2 separate regions of the Homo sapiens genome follow, and region 2 is linked to region 1. The links are contacts of gene promoters, found by promoter capture Hi-C in human tissues and cell types (Jung and others, 2019). All regions are on one chromosome and are shown on one strand. Each heading gives the region's core, a stretch centred on a gene start or on the middle of the fragment in contact. The rest is flanking DNA. Distances are from core to core; before and after follow the strand shown. Region 1 holds the start of OR6X1 (olfactory receptor family 6 subfamily X member 1). Region 2 has its middle 5.7 kb from the start of OR10G6.

The links. The method cuts DNA at HindIII sites, captures the fragments that hold promoters and counts their contacts. A contact is called where the count stands out against the background at its distance.
Region 2: a contact is called between a fragment that was not itself captured here and the fragment with the promoter of OR6X1 in region 1, in 1 of the 25 tissues and cell types used here (liver).

The regions. Positions count from the first base shown.
Region 1 is chr11:123,752,211-123,756,694 of GRCh38, forward strand. OR6X1 (olfactory receptor family 6 subfamily X member 1) reads right to left here and starts at 2,308. Exons shown (of 1, transcript NM_001005188.1): 1 at 1,370-2,308. The coding sequence starts at 2,308. The coding sequence ends at 1,370. The HindIII fragment of the contact is 6,166 bases long and covers 1-3,812 here.
Region 2 is chr11:123,987,198-123,991,681 of GRCh38, forward strand. No RefSeq gene overlaps it. Among named protein-coding and RNA genes, the nearest start is that of OR10G6, 5.7 kb to the right of the region's middle. The HindIII fragment of the contact is 7,262 bases long and covers 1-4,484 here.

The sequences.
Region 1 (4,484 bases), core at 1,058-3,557:
CAAGGGTCAGATCAGTAGGTTTGTAGCCTACTTTGAGGGACTTTGCACACTAACCCTGAAACCAGCCCAATTGTTCCACACAAAAGATATTTATGGATTTTTAAATGAACACAGAAATTGACACTCTGTCTTAAAACCTGAAACTTACATTTGTCTTAACTGAGTTCCTTCCTCAGGAAACTGACCCTCAGGCAAGAGACTGAAACCCACTAGATCACCAATCCGGACAACAAGATGCCAGGCCCCTCATTCATCATGATGGCTTCCTTACCCCTCCCTAATTCCTATTTTCTCACCTTACCAGCTCTTCTTCCTTACCCCTCTCTAACTCCTATTCTCCCTCCCTTCCACTATATATAAACCTCCCAAATTTAGTTGGTTGGGGAGATGGATTTGAGACTCTACCTCCCATTTTTCTTGGCTGCAGCATTCAGTTAAAGCCTTCTTCCCTGGCAATGCTCAGTGACTCAGTGATTGATGTTCTGTGCAGCAAACACCAGGACCTGACTGAACCCTGGGGGTTTTGGTGACAATCCTACATGTGAGCCCTGAACTTCATGTAACCTTGGGGCTGCATTTTCCAGTAGGAAAGTGTTTCTAGATATATTGGCTCTGAGACTTTTCCTAGCTTCCTAGGTACATGGTCTACTTATATTGGAGCCCAGAAACTGCTGTAATCCATGAACTGCAAATGGAAATTTTTTACAAGATGTTCTCAAGTTTTGGTATTATCTGAGGATGAACACCTCTAAGTTTATCTAAAAATTTGTATTATTTCAAGATGGAAGTCCCCTTATTGAGATATTATCAAACAAAAAGCTGATTCATTTCAAATATTTTGGAAGGACCATTAGAATTATTAGAAGTCTGTAGCGTGCTTCTCTCATGATAAAGATGATAGGAACTAAGAAAATGAGATGTGGAATGTTTTATGTTTTTGACAAGAAGATGAGGCAAAGAGGGTGGTCATAAAAAAAAAGATGGTGGTCATAAATAAAGAGGGAGACAGGATTCCTTATACATTTTTAAAGTTGTTGACATTTGTCTCTGACCTTAGTGGTTTCTACTTTCAGTTTGCAGTTGACAAGTCCAGAGTTCTACTTCATGCATCTGAGGATATACTGGGACTTCCTTGTTGAAGAATTACATTGTTTCTTCTCAAGAAAAACTCCTAGTTCATTTACATGTAACAAGTTCTCATGGGAGACCTTAACCATCATGGTTTGCTTTTGCATCTTTATCTTACTATAGCATTGAATCAGAACTTCTGGGATTTGGGGGGAGCCTGTTTTACCAAACTTCTCCAAAATCCTCTCTCAACTTTCATTGTTTTTATCTGCATTAAGCTCACTTTGATGTGTTGCATGTTTTACTTTGCATGACCAGTCTTTGGGCAAGTCATTGCCTTTCTTAAGGCTCCCTTCACCTCCTTGTTTCTAATAGTATAAATAAAGGGATTCAGAAGGGGGGTGAGGATAGTATTTAGCACAGACACCACCTTATTAATCTTAAAGGAGGAGTGTGCTGTGGGTCTTAGGTACATGAACAGAACAGCCCCGTAGAGCAGGGAGACAACTGTCAGGTGCGAGGCACAGGTAGAGAAAGTCTTTTGGTGGCCAGTGGCTGAAGGAATTCGTAGGATTGCGGACAGAATGTAGATATAAGAAATCATATTAAAGAGAAGTGACCCTGGGATCACAAGGATGGTTGCTATGACGCCCAGGAGTTCCAAAATGCTGGTGTCTATGCAGGCGGCTTTCAAACTGGGCCCAACATCACAGTAGAAATGACTGATAACATTATTGCCACAGAATGGCAACTGGATGAGCAGCATCGTCTGACAAAAGACAATGGTGAAGCCCACCACCCAGGAGCTCAGGGCCAGCTGCAGGCAGAGTTTGCTGGTCATGATGGTGGGGTGGTGAAGGGGATTGCAGATGGTGAGGTAGCGGTCAAAAGACATGATAGTGAGGATCAAGAACTCGGTGGTGCCCACGAAGAAGTGGAAGAAGGCCTGCAGCAGGCAGCAGGACATGCAGATTACTGTTCTTGCCACTACAAAGGTTCCTAGCAGTTTGGGGATGACTGTGGTGGTGTACCAGATTTCTAAGAAAGACAAGTTACAAAGGAAGAAGTACATTGGAATTTGTAGCCTGGGCTCAGCCCACACAGTGGCAATAATAAGCCCATTGCCTGCAAGGGTTAATATGTAGGTGAGAAAGATTGCAATAAAGAGAGGTGTTTGTAGGCCTTGGATAACAGGAAAGCCTAGCAGGATGAATTCTGTGATTACTGTGCCATTTCTCATGTCCCTTGATACCCTAGAAAGACAAGCAAGAAAGCTCCTTAGAATCTTAGAGCACAGTTGATTATAGTTGGGACAAAAAATAAGGAGGATTCTGACTATGTAAGGTCCTTCGGGACCTGACTCTATTTCAGGTCCTCCCTCACCCACATACAAATACGCACTGGCCACCCCTTCTTTACTGATGATTTGGCTGGTTCTTTTGTCAGCAAAACCAGCTTCTAATGGACTTTGAATGTATTAAAAACACTTGATGAATGCAAAGTGTTTTTTCACCCTTATACAACTATGAGAATAATCATGTGAAATGTGGTTGCTTCTTGTCAATTATTCATATAACTATTTTCAATGCATAGTGTGTATACCAACTTATGTACGTAAACGTGGCTGTGAGTTCATAAGAAATTAATCCCTATTCTCAGAGTCTGAAAAAGAAGTTACTGATTACATTACAGATACGTTTAAGGAAGCCATTATTGTGTGTGGGTGTGAGTGTGTGTCTTAAAATAACCCCAAATCATTGCTATTATATTAGTGGTGAGATAAAGTTAGATAACAGAAGAGGTGTTTTTCTGAAGAATCCACTTCCACATTCTAGTTCAGACTCCTTTGCTAAAGGTATCAAAAATAACATTTAAAACTAAATGAATAAAACTGTTTAGGAAGTAGAGAAATATTCAACTCAAATTCAAAATTTCAGAACAAGCTGAGTCAAAGCCTGTTATATGGAAGCACCTAATAAATGTACATGGGATAAAGATCTGCAGACACTAATCTACAAAAGTGAAAGGTTAGCAAATGCTAAGGATAACAAAATGGGAACTCTGAAAAGTACATTTTTGTCAAAATTTTTTTTGTGACTAAATGTCTTTTTATACCAAGTAAAGTATTTCTATTTGTATATGCAAATTCATGGGCTGAGAACATCCTTTCTGTTCTACCAAAATTCAGTAGAAAATAGTAAAACTACTTCCTTTCTTATTGAGGCTATTCTTCCATGTGGGTTTCCTTTGAAATGGGTGAGACAAATTACTGTGAAATGAATTTCACATTTTTCAAAGTACATAAGAAGCTTAGCATGAAAGAGGCAACTTACAGGTCATTGATAGGTTGTTTCATTCTTCCCTCATGTGAGATAACTGTAATTCTCTGAGGGCTTGCTTAGGGAAGAAAAACACTTCCATTTTCTCCCACCTCTTTTCTAGACCAGGAAAAGATTCTTTGTCTACAATGTCACAAGCTCTAGTGCCTTTCCACAAAACGATGAGAGACAGAGAAGTATTTGAATTTGCACTAATGGCCAATATAACTGGCCACGAACGTGATCTCTTTATATAGGATAGATATGGAATTATCTTCATTCCCCATGCAGAGAAGAGTGGCAATCTCTATAGCTCAATATAACATTTCCAAGGGCTACACATTCTACCATTTGGAGAATTAGACCTATGAATTCCACAAGCATTTGTTGAGAGCTTACTATGCTTCAAGTACTGCCAGGCAATTAAAGAGCTTATCAGATAGATAGATAGATAGGTGGATAGATAGATAGATAGATAGATAGATAGATAGATAGATAGATAGATAGATAGATAGGTGGATACTATATATAGTATAATAATTGCAACATGACTCAGTGAGGGAAAGTGTAGAGCTGTGCACAGATTGTTTTAGAAACACTTAGAAGGGGCTCTTCGCCCATCTTTAGCAGGGGTTAAGGAAGTTTTTCTAAAGAAGGAGAGGCCTAAGCTGAGTCCTAGAGTTCAAAAGGAAATGAAAGTGAAGTAAGGAGAGAGGGGGAATGCATTCCAGACAAGGATTCAGTTTTTGTGAAATAGAACCAGAGCAGAGAATTTCACTTGAGCTGGAGCTGGGAGTCAGGCTTGTCCTGGCACTTATGGTAAATTAACAGTTAGAACAGTTTACACGAGAGATTCATGAAGCTTTTGGAGGACAGAATCTTGAGTCACGGAGTTTGCAAGTGTGTGTGTGTGTGTGTGTGTGTGTGTGTGTGTGTGAAGTATGGTGTCAGCCATTCTCTGTAACACATGTACATGTGGATCTAAGCTTCATGGAGGAAGGGGCTGCAGGTGGTATGTGAATGACCTCTTTTGAGATTCTGGTCACAGACAGTACTGCCGTGGTATCCAGGTGACCATGTGGGACACATACAGGGGAC
Region 2 (4,484 bases), core at 1,216-3,715, 240 kb after region 1:
TTTTTCTTTGAATCTCTCAGTAGAAGAATTGTTAATTGCATTAAGCACACAAATTATAGCCAGATGATGTTAGTACTAATCTCCTATTCAAATAAATACATAGTCTCCAAAAGGGCCTGGAAAATCCACTTCCTTAAGAAAATGTGGCACATATACACCATGGAATACTATGCAGCCATAAAAAATGATGAGTTCATGTCCTTTGTAGGGACATGGGTGAAATTGGAAATCATCATTCTCAGTAAACTATCGCAAGAGCAAAAAACCAGACACCGCATATTCTCACTCATAGGTGGGAATTGAACAATGAGATCACATGGACACAGGAAGGGGAATATCACACTCTGGGGACTGTTGTGGGGAGGGGGGAGGGATAGCATTGGGAGATATACCTAATGCTAGATGACGAGTTAGTGGGTGCAGTGCACCAGCATGGCACATGTATACATATGTAACTAACCTGCACAATGTGCACATGTACCCTAAAACTTAAAGTATAATAATAATAAAAAAAGTCTTATAAAAGTGGATTTCTTCCAATCTTTTTCTATTCCTGCTTTTGTTGGATTCTTTAGTAGAGCTACAGATGGAGATGAGCAGTGCCTTATTTCCAGGAGGCATGGGAAATTTCATCCAATACCTGTGAACTTTTGCCTGGAGTCTGAATTTCATTACATCGATAAGAGTACAGGAATCCCACCTGCCACACACCCAGAGTGAGTCTTGGAATCTGAAACTCTTTCAAAGCTTGGAATTGTGTGTTCAGTTAATAATCAAGGCAATTTCTGTGGTTTGTAGTATTCTCTGGATTTCATCTCTAAATTTTTAGGCAACAAAAGCCAAAATTGACAAATGGGATCTAATTAAACTAAAGAGCTTCTGCACAGCAAAAGAAACTACCATCAGAGTGAACAGGCACCCTACAAAATGGGAGAAAATTTTCGCAACCTACTCATCTGACAAAGGGCTAATATCCAGAATCTACAATGAACTCAAACAAATTTACAAGAAAAAAACAACCCCATCAAAAAGTGGGCGAAGGACATGAACAGACACTTCTCAAAAGAAGACATTTATGCAGCCAAAAAACACATGAAAAAATCCTCACCATCACTGGCCATCGGAGAAATGCAAATCAAAACCACAGTGAAATACCATCTCACACCAGTTAGAATGGCAATCATTAAAAAGCCAGGAAACCACAGGTGCTGGAGAGGATGTGGAGAAATAGGAACACTTTTACACTGTTGGTGGGACTGTAAACTAGTTCAACCATTGTGGAAGTCAGTGTGGCAATTCCTCAGGGATCTAGAACTAGAAATACCATTTGACCCAGCCATCCCATTACTGGGTATATACCCAAAGGACTATAAATCATGCTGCTATAAAGACACACGCACACGTATGTTTATTGCGGCATTATTCACAATAGCAAAGACTTGGAACCAACCCAAATGTCCAACAATGATAGACTGGATTAAGAAAATGTGGCACATATACACCATGGAATACTATGCAGCCATACAAAATGATGAGTTCATGTCCTTTGTAGGGACATGGATGAAATTGGAAATCATCATTCTCAGTAAATTATCGCAAGAACAAAAAACCAAACACCACATATTCTCACTCACAGGTGGGAATTGAACAATGAGAGCACATGGACACAGGAAGGGGAACATCACACTCGGGACTGTTGTGGGGTGGGGGGAGGGGGGAGGGATAGCATTAGGAGATATACCTAATGCTAGATGACGAGTTAATGGGTGAAGCACACCAGCATGGCACATGTATATATATGTAACTAACCTGCACAATGTGCACATGTACCCTAAAACTTAAAGTATAATAATAATAAAAAGAATGCAACCCCCCCCCAAAAAACACAATTCTTAAAATTTCAGCCAAAGTTGGGGAAATGTAAGAAATTGATATGATCAGGAAATGGGATTAGAGTATACTTTTTAAAAATCTTGACATTATTAAGTTGCTTAAAGTTTTAATAAAACATTTTTTAAAAATAAAAAAAAAGGACTTGTCTTACTACACACACCCTTTCTATTCTCTTCAATGGGTAAAGCTAGATATCAGAATTCCATTTGAATTTTTCTGTTTTTTAAAAAACATGAATAGCCTTTTTCTTGAAATGTAAGTCTTATTTGTATCTGCATTTAATTTTTTATAACCATTATCCTTAGTTTCTCATTTCATAATGAGATGAAACCCATCATAAGCCATTCTCATAACGAAATGAGAGACTGAGGGTAATGGTCATAAAAGACTCATTTCATAATGAGTCTCTCATTTCATTATGTCTCAGGGATTATAATTATAATCTCCTGCAAGGTCTTCTCAACTCTCACCTCTCCCCTTTAATGAATCACTTCATCCTGCATAACATTGACTGATCAAATTTCAAAAGAGTTTATCTCACTGGTCCCCTCCCACAAATGCTAATAATCTCAATCTCACATACTGATTTACTGTGCAACACAAAATTCTCAATTTATAACTCAAAACTTCTAAAATGTGATTGGTATCCATTTATTCTTATCCCCTACAACTTTTCTCTACTCAAGTACATTTCTCTGTTCAATAAGCATTTCTTTATGCAAGTAGATTTTCTCAACCTCTCCTAAATTTACTGTTAATCTCCTCTTGTTCTCCTCACCCTACCCAATCCCCCCTTGAAGAAATCAACTTCATTTTTATCTGATAACATCTCTAAAGCTTCTCGGACTTTAGTGTGCACATGAGTCACCTGGGACTCTTGTTAAGCTGCAAATCCTAATTCAACAGGTCTGGAGTAGGGACTGAGATTTCTGTCTTTCTAATAAGTGCCCAGAGATTTCCATTATGTGGTTCCATGAATTGCACTTTGAGTAGCAAGAATCTAAGCTACTATTCGAGGTTAAGATCAAGCCTATCCTCTCCATGTTGTCTTTCTACCCTAAGAATGCTTTGGTTCCCCTGTAAACTCAGTGGCATTTAACAGTGTGTTTTGATATGTAGCCTGTTCAGAAACTCTCTTAGCATACTTCTACACTTTTCTATGTGTATGTGATATAGTTCCCTAAGAAGAAGAATGTTTTCCATAAATATCTTTGAAAGAGAGCCAAAAAATGGCATGAACTATGAAGTTAGATGGACTTGGGTTTATTGTCCTGTCACTGTCAACTACTGGTTGAAGGATATTTGGAAGATTGCTCACTTCCTCTTCTCCTCTTGCTAAATACATCAATTCCACACCTTTAAAATGAAAATAATAATGCATAAAGAGTGTCCTATTAATAGTTGCTATTAACCCTGGATAGTATGTGAAATAACATAAAATCTTAATTTTTTAAAAGTCAGTTACTCAAACCGCTGAATTTTACATGACCCTTTCAATATGAGAATATCACTACTTCACAGAAAAGTCAATTCCAATATTGGACTGTTCATATACAATTTATACCATATACTGTTATACATATACTGTTCATACAATTTAAATCAACATGACTAAACTTCCCCCAATTATTTTTAGCCTAATCCTTTAAGCTCAATGAAATAGTCAAAATACCAAATAAATTCAAATAGAAATAATTTTTTGAACAAATCATGCTTACTGTATTTCACCACCTGCGTATAGCATAAAAATGGTAGGTGAGAAAAATCTGGCTAGTGACTGTCAAGCCTGACAAAAAAATTGAGACTTTGCTATGACACCTCTTTTCTTATCTCTTTCCTAGGAGTGTTTTTCTCCATGCTCCTCAACTTAGAATGGAATTAATGTCCTGATAAACCCATCCTAAGTCAAAAATATCATAAGATGAAAATGCATTGAATATACCTAACTTACCAAACATCATAGCGCAGTTTAGCCCATCCTAAATGTGCTCAGAACACTTCCATTAGCCTACAGTTGGGCCAAATCATCCGAAAGAAAGCCTATTTAATAATAAAATTTTGAATATCTCATTAAATTCATTGAATACTATACTGAATATGAAAAATAGAATGCTTTTGCACAATCATTAAGTTGAGCCATCCTAAGTTGGAGACCGTCTGTATACTCCTTTCAAAAAGCACAGATCATGAACATTTATGAACTCAGTGGGACTGGAACAATTATAGGACTTTTGAATATCAAAATCTAGAATAACTTAGAGATCATCTTGCTTCACTTCATTTTACAGACAAAGAAAGTAAATCTGGAAAGACTAAGTAGATACCGACAAATTGAAATGCCTTCTAGGAATTTAGAAATAAGGATAATTAGGGTTCTTGCTGAGTATTAAACTTTACGTATTACCACATAAATGATCTGAGCAGATAAATACAAACTTAGAATGGCTATCAGGTCATGACAGGAAGGAATGTATTTATAAAAAATAAGACACTCTAGTGAGGTGTATTCAGGAAGACGTGAACAAGCGTAGGTATATCTCTTTGTAAGACAAAAAAGACTGAATATAATGTGAATGGTAAATATATTAAAA